Regions from separate parts of the Homo sapiens genome. Here region 1 is linked to region 2. Evidence: promoter capture Hi-C in 16 types of primary human blood cells and fetal thymus (Javierre and others, 2016). All regions are on one chromosome and are shown on one strand. The core of a region is centred on a gene start or on the middle of the fragment in contact, and the rest is flanking DNA. Distances in the headings are between cores, read along the strand shown.

The links. Contacts are between HindIII fragments. The CHiCAGO score rates a contact against its expected background, and 5 or more counts as called.
Region 1: a contact is called between a fragment that was not itself captured here and the fragment with the promoter of LRP1-AS in region 2, in 3 of 17 cell types (M1 macrophages, erythroblasts and megakaryocytes). The highest score is 7.2, in M1 macrophages.

Annotation. Positions count from the first base shown.
Region 1 is chr12:57,182,507-57,189,329 of GRCh38, forward strand. LRP1 (LDL receptor related protein 1) reads left to right here. Exons shown (of 89, transcript NM_002332.3): 35 at 873-1,004; 36 at 1,269-1,403; 37 at 1,579-1,708; 38 at 1,820-1,946; 39 at 2,333-2,484; 40 at 2,575-2,699; 41 at 3,025-3,402; 42 at 4,761-4,950. Among named protein-coding and RNA genes, the nearest start is that of MIR1228, 8.6 kb to the right of the region's middle. RefSeq lists a silencer at 556-605. The HindIII fragment of the contact is 162 bases long and covers 5,112-5,273 here.
Region 2 is chr12:57,143,988-57,150,849 of GRCh38, forward strand. LRP1-AS (LRP1 antisense RNA) reads right to left here and starts at 3,632. Exons shown (of 2, transcript NR_131938.2): 1 at 3,452-3,632; 2 at 633-1,096. LRP1 (LDL receptor related protein 1) reads left to right here. Exons shown (of 89, transcript NM_002332.3): 5 at 985-1,113; 6 at 1,240-1,503. RefSeq lists enhancers at 2,246-3,174, 5,032-5,959. The HindIII fragment of the contact is 5,560 bases long and covers 1-4,166 here.

The sequences.
Region 1 (6,823 bases), core at 3,943-6,442, 40 kb after region 2:
CATCTCAATTAAAAAAAAAAAAAAAAAAGAGCCAGGTGCGTGGCTCATGCCTGTGATCCCAGCACTTTGGGAGGCTAAAGAGGGCGGATTACCTTGAGGCCGGGGTTCAAGACCAGCCTGACCAACACGGAGAAACCCTGTCTCTACTAAAAATACAAAATTAGCCGGGCATGGTGGTGCATGCCTGTAATCCCAGCTACTCGGAAGGCTGAGGCAGGAGAATCACTTGAACCTGGGACGCGGAGGTTGTGGTGAGCCGAGATCGCGTCATTGTACTGCAGCCTGGGGAACAAGAGTGAAATTCCGTCTCAAAAAAAACAAACAAAGAAAAACAAAAGAAAAGAAAAGAAAAAGAAATGGGATAACTGGGAATGAGACTGGCTTCGGAGTGACCTTAGGGGGTTGAGTTTTTGATGTTGGAGAGAGGGTGTGGCATAGACCAGACAGAGGGAGGACAAAGAGGAAACTAGGATCAGGCTGAGCACCAAACTGGAAGTCTAGATTTTGGAGTCACCTAGTCCTGATTGTCTGGTCTGAACTCCCAGACTTTCCCTAAGGAACTTGCAGGGGTGCAGGGTTGGGTTGTGCTGGGTGGAGGCCGGCAGAGCACAGGGTGAGAAATCCGAGTCTCTGCTGCCCTCTCATGGTGGCTAGGGGTCCTGCAGGTGGTTCCCCAGAGCTACCAGCCAGGTGCGCTTCCTCCCGGCCCATGCTCTGGCCTCAGGCTAGGGTGTGTGTGCTGGGTGGAGGATAGGGATGATGGTGGGGGGGGATGATATCAAAGGAGAAGCAGAGAACAGTTGGAGGGTGACAGGAACCAAGTTTAAGGGAGTGTTGGCGATACCCATGCCTTAAGTTTCCTTGTCTTTCAGGCGTAGGTTCCTTTCTCCTGTACTCTGTGCATGAGGGAATCAGGGGAATTCCCCTGGATCCCAATGACAAGTCAGATGCCCTGGTCCCAGTGTCCGGGACCTCGCTGGCTGTCGGCATCGACTTCCACGCTGGTGAGCCATTTGGTGGCAGAGGGAGTTGGGCGTGGCGTAGGAGCTTTAGGGGTGGTGTGGTGTGCCCTGAGGGTCCAGTGAGAGGCTGCCTGAATTGGCCTGAGGTGGGGCACTTGCTACAGCTGCCACCCTGACTCCACCTCCCCTTCAAGCACCTGGCCCCTCCGGCACTCTCTCACCTCTGTCTTGAGCCTTGTGAGATTTTGACCCCTCACCTTACCCCTGCCTTATTGGGCATCCCCATGTCACCTCCTCCACCTCCAGAAAATGACACCATCTACTGGGTGGACATGGGCCTGAGCACGATCAGCCGGGCCAAGCGGGACCAGACGTGGCGTGAAGACGTGGTGACCAATGGCATTGGCCGTGTGGAGGGCATTGCAGTGGACTGGATCGCAGGTGAGCAGTGGGCAGGTTTGTGGGGCTTGGGGTGTGGCAGAGGACTGGGGGACGAAGTGAGAGGAGGAGTTGGCGGGAGCAGGAAGAGGAGCTGTAGGGGTGCCTGGGAGCTTGGAGACACCAGGTCCACCTGTCCTCACCTAACCTCCCTGAGCCCCACCAACTCCCTCCTTAGGCAACATCTACTGGACAGACCAGGGCTTTGATGTCATCGAGGTCGCCCGGCTCAATGGCTCCTTCCGCTACGTGGTGATCTCCCAGGGTCTAGACAAGCCCCGGGCCATCACCGTCCACCCGGAGAAAGGGTGAGGAGCTGGAAAGACTGGCCTTGTCATTCTGCCCATGGCCCATGCTGATGAGGCCCTGTCTCCTCCAGGGTCTGAGGACTGACCCCCACTTCCACCCCCACCCTACAGGTACTTGTTCTGGACTGAGTGGGGTCAGTATCCGCGTATTGAGCGGTCTCGGCTAGATGGCACGGAGCGTGTGGTGCTGGTCAACGTCAGCATCAGCTGGCCCAACGGCATCTCAGTGGACTACCAGGTTCGCACGCCAACTTGGCCTTGGATCCGATGGTAGACCCCTGACCCAGGCTCCTGTTCCCTGTGATGAGCCCATTCTGGGAGGACTTGGAGCCCAGGGGAAGTCACAGGGTCTCCCAGCCCAGCCCTCCACCCAGAGTAGGACTCCTGCTACCACAGAGATGATGGGCAGGGGTCGCTCAGAAGTGGGGAGTGGGGGAGTGGAGAGATGCCTGGAGGTCACCTTATCAGCAGGGCAGTGGGCAGGAGTGTATGCAGGAGGCAGGAGTGAGTTAGGGGAGGCTGAACTGAGGGCCTCACTCTGGCCCAGGCACTCCCTGCTGCCCCAGACATGGGGCTGGCAGCGAGCTCAGCCCTGGAGGTGAGGTGGGTGCCTCTGGCCTGTAGGATGGGAAGCTGTACTGGTGCGATGCACGGACAGACAAGATTGAACGGATCGACCTGGAGACAGGTGAGAACCGCGAGGTGGTTCTGTCCAGCAACAACATGGACATGTTTTCAGTGTCTGTGTTTGAGGATTTCATCTACTGGAGTGACAGGTGAGGGCTTCTGTCCTGGCCTCCTCAGCTGATCTCTTCCTTCCCTCCTGCCTCCACTGATGCCCTGCTTGTGCCCTGTCCTTCCCTCAGGACTCATGCCAACGGCTCTATCAAGCGCGGGAGCAAAGACAATGCCACAGACTCCGTGCCCCTGCGAACCGGCATCGGCGTCCAGCTTAAAGACATCAAAGTCTTCAACCGGGACCGGCAGAAAGGTGAGGCTGGGGCTCTGGGCTGGGGTGGAGAGGTGAGGGGGACTCTGGCCTGGGAGAGTGCTCCCCAGGGAACCCAGTGTGAGAGGGCTGGGAGACAAGTTAGACCCATGGGGCAACTTCCGATGGCCCGAGAGACCCAGGGATGGGGAGGAAAGGCTGAGGTGCTCTGGGACAGATCTTGGCATTGGACTCTGGGCCCTGGAGGGTCATTCAAGCTGGGAATACCGAGGCAGAGGGCAGAGCTTTCGCCAAAGCCTGGATGACAAAGGCACCAGTGAGCCTTTCCCAAGGCAGGCCCTGCCCTCTGTACCCTCCCCTCCCCCAGGCACCAACGTGTGCGCGGTGGCCAATGGCGGGTGCCAGCAGCTGTGCCTGTACCGGGGCCGTGGGCAGCGGGCCTGCGCCTGTGCCCACGGGATGCTGGCTGAAGACGGAGCATCGTGCCGCGAGTATGCCGGCTACCTGCTCTACTCAGAGCGCACCATTCTCAAGAGTATCCACCTGTCGGATGAGCGCAACCTCAATGCGCCCGTGCAGCCCTTCGAGGACCCTGAGCACATGAAGAACGTCATCGCCCTGGCCTTTGACTACCGGGCAGGCACCTCTCCGGGCACCCCCAATCGCATCTTCTTCAGCGACATCCACTTTGGGAACATCCAACAGATCAACGACGATGGCTCCAGGAGGATCACCATTGTGGAAAGTGAGCCCAGACCCTAAGTCTTCCCAGGAAGTGGGACATGGGGCGGGGAGCAGCACAGACTCTTAGACCCCAGCCAGGCACTCTACCCTAGGTCTGAATCCCAGCAGCTACAACTCAGCTGAATCCAACTGCACCCCCGCAGTTACATGACTCCTGATTTGGAGTCAGCGTCAGCCCCCGACTTCCTCCCGCCACTGGTCCTAGTTCTGCCTTCAGAGCTGCACAGAACAAGCGAGAGGTCTCTGTGGAGCCCAACGCTCACAAACCCAGGCTGCAGACATGGGGCTGAGCTCCAGTCACTTGGGCTTTCAATAACTTGGGTCAGTTTCCTGCTCTTGCCAAGCCTGAGCCTTCTCATCTGCGTGGATGAGTGTCTCATCTGAGACAGGATTCCTCGAGCTGCTGCGCAGGAAGGCTTAGCTCAGTGATGCTGGGGACGGAGTGTGTGCTCTGGAAAGAGCAGTTACAGTGTCAGGGCTGTCATCACAGGACAGCCTTTCAGCTCTTTGAAAACTGCATCCTGCTACATTTTCTCTTCTTCAGCCTGGTTACCACCGGGTCCCTTGACTCATTCATTTGCTCATATATTCATTCAGCTGGTCCATAAAGACCTGCCAGGCACCGAACTAGGTGCTACGTATACAGACCTGTCCTTTCAGCCTTTTCTGGGACATTTTCTGCTGCACATAGTCCAGCCTGCATGTCTGTCTAAAAATGTAGCATCCGAAGCTAAACTCGGTACTCCATGCTCGTAGCTTGATCAGGAGAGACTGGCACATCAATCCCCAGACCCCTGGAAGGGATGTCCCCTCACCTCCGGCTGTCTGCAGACCATACCACAGCATGGCCCTTTGGCAGCCACCATCGCTTATAGCCACTAACACTCTAGTCTTTTCTCTTACACTGCTGTTCGGCTGTGTCTCTCACTGTGCCTTGGTTCTTTAACCTGAGTTTAAGATGTCTGCTTTATAAAATAATCAATCCAGCTCAGGGTCTTTTTAAGTAGGGGGCTCCCCAGTACAGCCCAAGCAGGATTTGATTTACAGAAATCTACATTGCACTCAGCTCAGCAGAACTGCAGCTCCAGGAAAGTGCAAACACACCAGAAAGCCCGATTGCCCTCAGTGGGAGAGGGTTGAGAGGTGACCACAGGTCATTTGAGTGAGGACAGCAGAGGTTGGGGGCACTGAGTCAGACCCTGGTGCCCCCGAGCCCTCTCTGCTGCACCTCTTGCACTCCCATACCCCACACTTCGCCTTCCAGCCAGGAGAGCACCTGCCCCAGGCTGTCCCCCACGGCTCCTGTGCAGGCTGCCCTCTGGGCCCTCCTGACAAATCGCTGCTCCTGTCTCTTCACAGACGTGGGCTCCGTGGAAGGCCTGGCCTATCACCGTGGCTGGGACACTCTCTATTGGACAAGCTACACGACATCCACCATCACGCGCCACACAGTGGACCAGACCCGCCCAGGGGCCTTCGAGCGTGAGACCGTCATCACTATGTCTGGAGATGACCACCCACGGGCCTTCGTTTTGGACGAGTGCCAGAAGTGAGCTGCTGCCTGGGGATGGGGGTAGCAGGGAGAGGTGGGACTCGGGGTGGCAGAAACTCCCCAGGCAGATCCAAGCGGGGGTGCAGGAGAGGCAGGCCCTCACTTGAGCTCCACCCTTCCCTGCTGTGTGATCTGGGGAGAGGTGCAAAAGCTTCCTAAGCTTCAGGTTCCTCTTCTGTGATACAAGCTGGCTAAGATTCCAGCTGCCTGCACCAAAGGGAGCATCAGGACTGTGGGGGACGCTCTGCCTTTGTGATTGATTCATTCATCAGAGCACCATGTTGGAGGCACAGGGTAGGGCCTCTAGCTCTGGGATCCAAAGCTTCAGGCAAAGAATGTTTGTCGAACCCTTCGTACAGAAGCCTAAGGCTGGGCCTACCAAGCCACCTAGCTGGGTTGAGAAGTCATACTTGTGGGAAGTAATGGTAACTGGCACAGGGCTGTATACGGGTGACCACAGGTGTCATGAAGGCAGTAGATTGGCCCAGAGCCTGGAACTGGAAAAGACAAGGAAGGCCAGCTCGGACAGGGGAAGTGCTTTGAGCAAAAGCCTGAAGAAAGGCAAATTCAAGGCAGGGAGGACAGAGGGGGACCTCTGCATGCCATAGAGCATAGGCAGGCCTGAGCCCAGCCAGGAAGTGAGGTCAGGGTGCGGAGGAGTTAGGAGCACAAGCCAGGACAGGTGGCAGAAAGCACCCGGGGGTGGGTGCTCCCCCTGGAGGGTTCACCCGCAGTCAGCCTGCTCTGTTCTCCCGCAGGGGCAGCCCTCATCCCGGCTGTTTGGGCCTCTAGTGAGCCACCCCCTCGCCTTAGGGATCCAGGCCCACATGTTAGCAACATTTTTTTCCCAATTCAGCAGTGCTTGGAATGTTTTTCAAAAGCTTTACTAGGAAACTAGTAAACACAACCCAAAGCAGCTGTATAGATACGTGAGTGTCCCGAACCCAGATTCCCCCCACCAGTCCCCCAATGTCAGTCACCTCCAACCTGGCTCAAGGACCCTCTGTTTCCTCCTGCCTCTGTCATCTGGCACATCTGCAGCTGATGATGAAGGTCCAGTCCCCCCTTCCATGACCCTCGGCTGCCTCACCTGTCTGGGGATGGCCTCAGAGCCTGTCCCTCATGAGTCTGGAGCTTCCCTGGAGGGTCCAGCAAGGCTGCCTGGCCCTCGTCCCAGAGGACGTGACCCCCTGGCTGCCCACCAAGCTCCTTTCTTATGAGGCCAGGGGATTCCATCACGCATTCAGCGAGTGGCTTTTGAGGGCAAAGAAGGTGCAGAGGACCCAGTGGGGAGCGCGAGGGGCGTCATGAAGAGCTTCGTGGCTGTGTGCTGAGGACTGGCCCCACCTGGAAGTCAGGGAACGTGTCCTTGAAGAGGCGGCATGTTAGCCAGCGTCTGAGGATGGCAGGAGTGGCTGGGTGGGAGCATGGTCCCAGTGCCCAGGAGAAAGAGCTGAGCTGGCAGGAGGGGCCCTCCCCCTGGCCACAAGGAGCAGGCACTTTCGGGGAATCAGAAGGAGCCAGTGTGGACCCCAGTGGAGAGGGCAGGGGCAAGTGGAGACTCCAACAACCCAGCCTCCTCCTGAGCCCTCCCCGCGTCAGCACTGGAGCACTGATGGCCCTGTAGAGCTCACAGTAGGATAGTTAGAAGGTCCGCCATGTTCCTGGACACTGAGCACCTACCCCAGGAAAGCCTCTCTCTCCCTCCTGCCCCATTCCTGGGAAGCAGGTTCACCCAGACCACAGTTGTGTCACATGGAGGAGTTTGTTGACGCCAGGAGGAAAACCACTTCTCACTGCAGGTGTGAGTAGTTTCACCTGAGGTGTAGGAGTTCCTGGTGGGGACTGACAGGCCAAGTCCAATCCTGAC
Region 2 (6,862 bases), core at 2,382-4,881:
AATTCACCTTAAAATTATAGTTTATATGTAAATTTTTCTGTTGTAAAAAATTAGAGCATTAACAGATAAAACCAAAGTCCCCTTTGACAAATCCCCCTCAATTCCGGTCCCCTTCCCATCTCCCTGGAGTTCAACTCTATTATCAGTTTGCTCTCTCTCTTTCAGGCCCTTTTTTGTGCATTTGTCTCTGGGTATTCACAGAAAATCTAATTGGAAGTACTGCTCAAGAGTACTGCGTGCTCTTTTTTACATAAACAATAGTATACTGTGTATATTATTTTCAATGTTTTTCACTCATCAGTATGTTCCACAATTTTTTTTTCTGTGTTAATATGTAAAGATCTACATCATTCTTTTAGAAACCACTATGACGTATGACTTTTACCACAGTTTACTTGGTCACCTCCCTGTTGATGAGTGAGATGTTCCCAATTTTTCACTGCTACAAGCAATGCAAACTTTTCTGTTTTAAATTTGCCTCCCTCGGGTCTTTGTGCAAATGCCACCTTCTCAGTGAAGCCGTCCCCCGACCCCTCTAAAACTGCATCCCTGCCATCTGCATTCTCTATCCCTGTTCTCTTTTCATTGCACTAGCACCTCTAATGTATACTTTATTTACTTTGTTTCATATGTTATTATAGTAACTATATTTCATTTATTATCTGAATATAAGTTTCATGAGGACAGCAATGTGGGTCTATTTTAAAGTTCACTGATGCACCCCTGGCACCTGACCCATAGTAGGGACTCAATAAATCTTCCCTGCGTGGATGAGTGATATGTACACGAGTGTTTCTCTAGAGTGGATTCCAAGACTGGACTTGCTGGGTGTTAAGGTTTGCACATTTCATGCTGTAATAGATTCTGCCGAACTGTCCTTCAAGGTAGCTGTAAGGATGGACATGTTGATCATGTCTGATGATCACCCACTTCGTTGCCCTTGTCACACTGGAAATGACCACATTCTTGCCCTTTCCTCGGCAGATTTTGATGAGTGCTCAGTGTACGGCACCTGCAGCCAGCTATGCACCAACACAGACGGCTCCTTCATATGTGGCTGTGTTGAAGGATACCTCCTGCAGCCGGATAACCGCTCCTGCAAGGCCAAGAACGGTGGGTGGGGTTGCCTCTGGCCACAGTGCTAACTAAGCCCCCTCAATGCTGTTCCCTGGTGGGTGGTGGCCTGAGAGGTGGTCCTAGAGCCCTGGCTGCACGGACTCTTCTCTTCCCCATTCCCAGAGCCAGTAGACCGGCCCCCTGTGCTGTTGATAGCCAACTCCCAGAACATCTTGGCCACGTACCTGAGTGGGGCCCAGGTGTCTACCATCACACCTACGAGCACGCGGCAGACCACAGCCATGGACTTCAGCTATGCCAACGAGACCGTATGCTGGGTGCATGTTGGGGACAGTGCTGCTCAGACGCAGCTCAAGTGTGCCCGCATGCCTGGCCTAAAGGGCTTCGTGGATGAGCACACCATCAACATCTCCCTCAGTCTGCACCGTGAGTCACCTGCTCTCAGCTTGGAGGGCTGGGGAGGGTAGGGGAGACAGGGAAGGTGGACCCTATCTTGAACAGAGGCCGGGAGTTACACAGGATGGTCCTGTCTGGGGCAGGAGAAGCAGGAGGCTGGATACAATGGTGTGTGTTTGAGGCAGGGGCAGAGCCACCGGCACGCTCCCTCCCAGCTCTCTGAGCAAGTGTCTGGATGGCCCCTGCATTTCTGGCCAAGGGCTGAGGGGGCAGTGAATGGTCAATCTCCAGAGACCAGGGACTGTCCCTTCTCTGAGAGGGGAGTGTTGACTAGACTGCAGAGGGACTTTCCGGTGCAGTGGGAGCCAAGGCTAGGGAAAGAAGGAGCGGAAGCCTGAGGTGCCCTGTTAGGCTGCAGCTGAGGGTAAAGGAGCTGGGGCCCAGCTGCTCTGTCTCCATGGGCCATCGTTTCCCTCGGGGACCATTGCCAATGGACTCTCTGCTGCCATCGGGGGAGGGCAGTACTGAGGTTATTTCTCTGTGGCTTTGTGGCAGTGAATGAGGCTGGGAGAGGAGCGTGAGCCACATGAGATTTTAGAATATCCTGGATGCTTCCATTCAGGCTTCTCCCTAGGCTACACTTTTGCTATCCTAGTTGTGGAAGAAGGGGTGTCACAGAAAGGGGCACGAGCATAGCTGGGTGTAGACCCACTGCCGGGAACAGCCCTGCCCATCTCAGAGGCTGTTACACCAGCAACCTTAAAAGTCAACATCTGGCAGCATCACATTTCCAAAGAAATGCACCACAGGGCTGAGAGGAAGAATCTGGCCTGTGGTTGATCTGACCCCCTAAGGGAGATTAACTTGATCTGTAACTGTTTAGTAAACCAGAATTCCCATCTCTGCCTTGGTTTCCTAATCTGCATAATGGGTTTGAGCTTGTCTGTCTAGATCAGATTAACTGGAGTGAAAGCCAGTGGTAAAGGACAGCACACTTTGAAGTTGAGGATTGTGAACCTTGGGCCTCTCTAGAAGATCTTCAAGTTTCTTTATTTGGTTCTTGTGATGAAAAGAAAGATCCCAGGAGGTTACAAGGGATTCATTCTGGGAGAGAGAAAGGCCCCTCCCCGGGATGGTGGCGAGCAGGGGTTCCTCTGAGAGCCCTCACTCTCCGTGGCCTCAGCGTAAGGTTCACATTTCTGCCTTTGGCTCCTCCAGAGCATCCCTGATAGCGTCCTTGGGCTGCTGCTGTCCACAGCTCACCTGTGATCAGACATGTGTCCTCCTTGGGGTGCTGAGCTGGGGGCTGTCAAGCCTGGTTGGCTGAGCTCTTAACGAGTGGGCGACTCAGGGAACCCCATGGCTGATGGGGTGGGATTGGTGCTAGACCCTCTTGTGCAGCTGCCCTCCCCCTGTTCCTTGTCCACTGACCTACTCAACAGGCCTGTCTGGGCAGACAGCTTGTCAGTTTCCTCCCCAGCCCTGCATCTTGCCATACAGTGGGCTTCTGGGTAGGTGGCTATGGGGTGTCCTGGAGGTAACCTTCTCAACTTCTACTCTGGCCTCATCTCCTTATCTGACTTCCTCCCCAGGAGAAGCTGGTACCCCTCCCTTGGCAAACAGATTTGCCTTGCCTCCCAGTCTGCTAAACTCACTGGGCCTCTCAGGGGCAGAGTCCAGGAGGCTAGAAGAGTCCAAGGGGAAATGCTTGTGGGGTAAATGAGTGGGTTTCTCTCATCCCAGCTTCTGTCCCTTCCTCCCTGCCCTCCCCCTGCTCCACGTCCCTGCCGCCTGAATGTCTGGCTGTCACCCTGAGGATGGTTGTTTTGCTCTCTCCCACAAACTAATTATGGGTCCCAAACTGAGGACGTCAGTGTCTCTCCCCTAGCCCCTCCCCCAGTTTCTGGGTCATCCCCCTCCCCAGGAGATGCTGACTGGCCTGCCCTGGTGTGTAGGGTGGCTGGTCCCAGGCACTCACCTGCACAGTGGCTGCTGGCCTGTAATTAGCTCCCCAAGGAGGACGAAGAAGAAAGGCTGCAGCTTTCCCCTGCTTTCACTCTGCCCTCCAGGGCAGCCCTCCCTGCAAGCCTTCCATTCTGTGCTGTGACTGTGACCTCTGTTGGACCCCTGGGGCTGAGCCTCATGCAGCAGGGGTGCACACAGAGGGAGGAGTCTGACAATTGAGGGGTGTTCGAGCCAGCGAGGCCAGCCCGCTGGTGCAGGCAGAAGGGGGAGCCTGCCCCAGAGAAAACTCTGGAAGCAGAAATAGAATAGAAAGAAGGAAGGAGGCCAGGAAATGAGCCTGGTTCACATGTGTCCTGGGCCATGTGAGTCAGACCTGTTGTGGAGTCCTGAGAGCCCCCGAGGGCCCCCCTGAGGCCCTGCAGTGTGTGAACATTCCTCTTCAATGCCCCAGGGCTGCTGACCCTCCTGCCTCAGGCCCAGTGTTATCCCCCTGGATTGGGTGGGTCATCTCTTTTCCTCCCACCTGAGATTACCTCCCCCTCCCCTCTGCCGCTGGCCCAGTGGTTTGGGGAGGTCTATGAGGCTCGAATTCCAAGACCAGAGAACTCCATGGTGAGAGCCGGAAGAGAAGGCAAGACCCTTGGCCAGTACCAAGAGCAGCCCTGGCTTTCACTACTGCTTTCTCAAAGGGGCTATGCATTGATTTGATTTTAGATGGTACCTGGACAAGCTTTTTTTTTTTTTTTTTAACTGTTATAGTTACGTTTTTATTTGATATGCATTAGGAAACTCCTGTAACTAGCACATCAAATCTGTTACTTCAGCAATTGTTTAGCATGCAGCGAAATAAGAAAAGTAAGTTAATTGAAATAACTGGTAATAAACAGTAGCGCAAGCTGTACATAAGCATGGTAGACATTTTGAAAGTGATACACAAAAGACTAAAGTTCTGAAAATTGAGGCCCAGAGGGATCAACAGGCCTGATAGTCCCTTAGTCAGGAACCAGGCCTGCGCACTCTCACCCCCACCTCTGACCAGTCTCTCAGCTCCAGAGGCCTATGGAGCCTGTAACCCAGCTTTGTCCAGCCTCCTGCCAGGCTGCCCCTGGGCAGGCCTGGTGGTGCAGTCTACCGACCCCAGCCCAGCCCTGCATTTCCTAAGCTGAGCTCCTCTGATCTGTATTCCCTTCACCTTGGAGGATGCCACCACTGTAGAAAGAATGAGGCAGACTGCAAGATTGGGGTCCTGGGAACATGGGTGTGTATGGTGAGGGGAGGTTCTGAGGTTGTAAATAGAGGCCTTGAAGGAAATCGGGTTTGCTGAAGTCACTCAGGAGTTTGGACTGTGTGTGAAAGGATGGTCTGAAGGGGCTCTCAGAGGTCTCAGGGTTCCCCTCCCTGCACCATGCTGCATGGGGAAGAAGGAGGTGGCTGGGGAGCTCAGCAAAGGGCCCCTAGGCTGCAGGCAGCAAGGTTGCGAAATGGGTCCCAGGTCCAGCTGGCCAACTTCACTTTTCCCTTCCTCTCCCTTTCTTTTATTTATTTATTTTTTTAGTGTGTGTGTTTTCGAAATCACAACAGGAAATGGGGTAGTGATTTGTCTAGAGGGGAGGCAAAGAAGGGGCAGACAGCAGTCCCTCTGAGTCTAATGAACTGGCTGCTGCTGCTGGAAGGGGTGCTACCTCCCCACTGTGCTGGGCACCCCTGGACCCTCTCAGCCTCCCACCCTGCCTACAAAGCACTTCCAGACTTCACATGTGAAAGCTAACCATGCCCATCCTTGGCCTTTCTGACCCATGGGATGCCAGGCTGTTTGGGGAGGGGTGGCTCTAGCCACCCCACTCTTTGGCCTTAGGCCCCCTGCATCCTGGCACTTTTGCTTCCCATTCCTGTTCTGAGTTTCCTAATCATTTAACAGCTCACTCTTGCTCCTCCTCTCTCCTGGCCCGGGCCAGCCCTGTGTCTCCCGGCCCAGATCCAGCCCTGTCCTCTCCTCCCCCGCTGTCTCCTTGAAATTGCCTCTCCACCCAGACTGCTCCCAGCACTCCCCTTGCTGTTTTCAAGCCAAAGGAAGTAACTTAAGCAAGAGAGATGTGTTTTAGAGCCCGGCAAGGATTTCTCAATAGAGGGAAGACCCTAAGATGGGCTGAGTGGAATCCAGGCATCATCCCTGGGATCTAGGTCGAAATGCCTCTTGGGGACCTAAGCCAGGCAGGGGAAGGTAGCAGGACATAACCACAGGCTGGAATCACAGGCAGGAGCAGGAAGAGAGCCCAGGAGAACGAGGTGACACAACACGGCTAAGCTCCAGACTGGCTGGTGGAAGGAAGAGCTGAAGTCGGGACCCAGCAGGAAACAAGGAGCATGAGGCCACATCGTTTAGCAGAGCTTCTGCCAGGCTCGCCAGGAGGTCTCCTTCCCACCTTCGAAGTCCTCAGACTCTCCGCCATCTCTCCCAGGCCCAGGCGAGATCCCTGAGTAGGATTACTAGACAGACTGTCCTCTCCCACTGTCTTGGAGTGTCCCAAGGCCAGAGAGGCAGGATCCTGGCAGTAGAAGAGAGGGGGAAAATGATGTCCCAGCTCTAGAACAACAGACTCAGTCTTCAATAAATATTTGTTCAATGGATCAATACATGTGTGTCAGACGCCTGAGACAAAGACAAAAGGCAGCGCTCTCCTTACAGTATTTGCAGTCAGGTGAAGAGGCCATGATCAAAGAAGCTCCAGAGGCCTATGGAGCCTGTAACAGGAAAACTTCCTTCTTTTTTTTTTTTTTTTTTTTGAGATGGAGTCTCACTCTGTCGCCCAGGCTGGAGTGCAGTGATGCAATCTTGGCTCACTGCAAGCTCTGCCTCCCGGGTTCACGCCATTCTTCTGCCTCAGGCTCCCGAGTAGCTAGGACTACAGGTGCCCGCCACCACGCCTGGCTAATTTTTTGTGTTTTTAGTAGAGACAGAGTTTTACCATGTTAGCCAGGATGGTCTCGATCTCCTGGCCTCATGATCCACCTGCTTCAGCCTCCCAGAGTGCTGGGATTACAGGCGTGAGCCACTGAGCCTGGCCTTGAAAACTTCCTTCTAATAGGGCAAGCTTCCTTCTGGGAGCCTGAGCCGAGTCTTGACGAGTAGTAGGTGTTAGCCCCAAATGGCCCACCTGGAGGGCCCACCTAGAGTCAGGAGGCCACAGGGCTCTGGCTGGAGGCACAGAGGGCGACTTGGTGGAAAAGGTGGGAAAGGATGGGTTCAGGGAGGGGAGGACATGGTGGGAACCGCAGCCCCCATGTGGGGAGTGTTTATCATGCACCAGGCCTCATGCTAAGTGCAGTTAGTGTACCATCCAGTTTTACAAATGAGGAAACAGAGACTCAGAGGCATTAAGTAACTTGCTCATAGCCTCAGTTGGAAGGTGACAGAACCAGAATT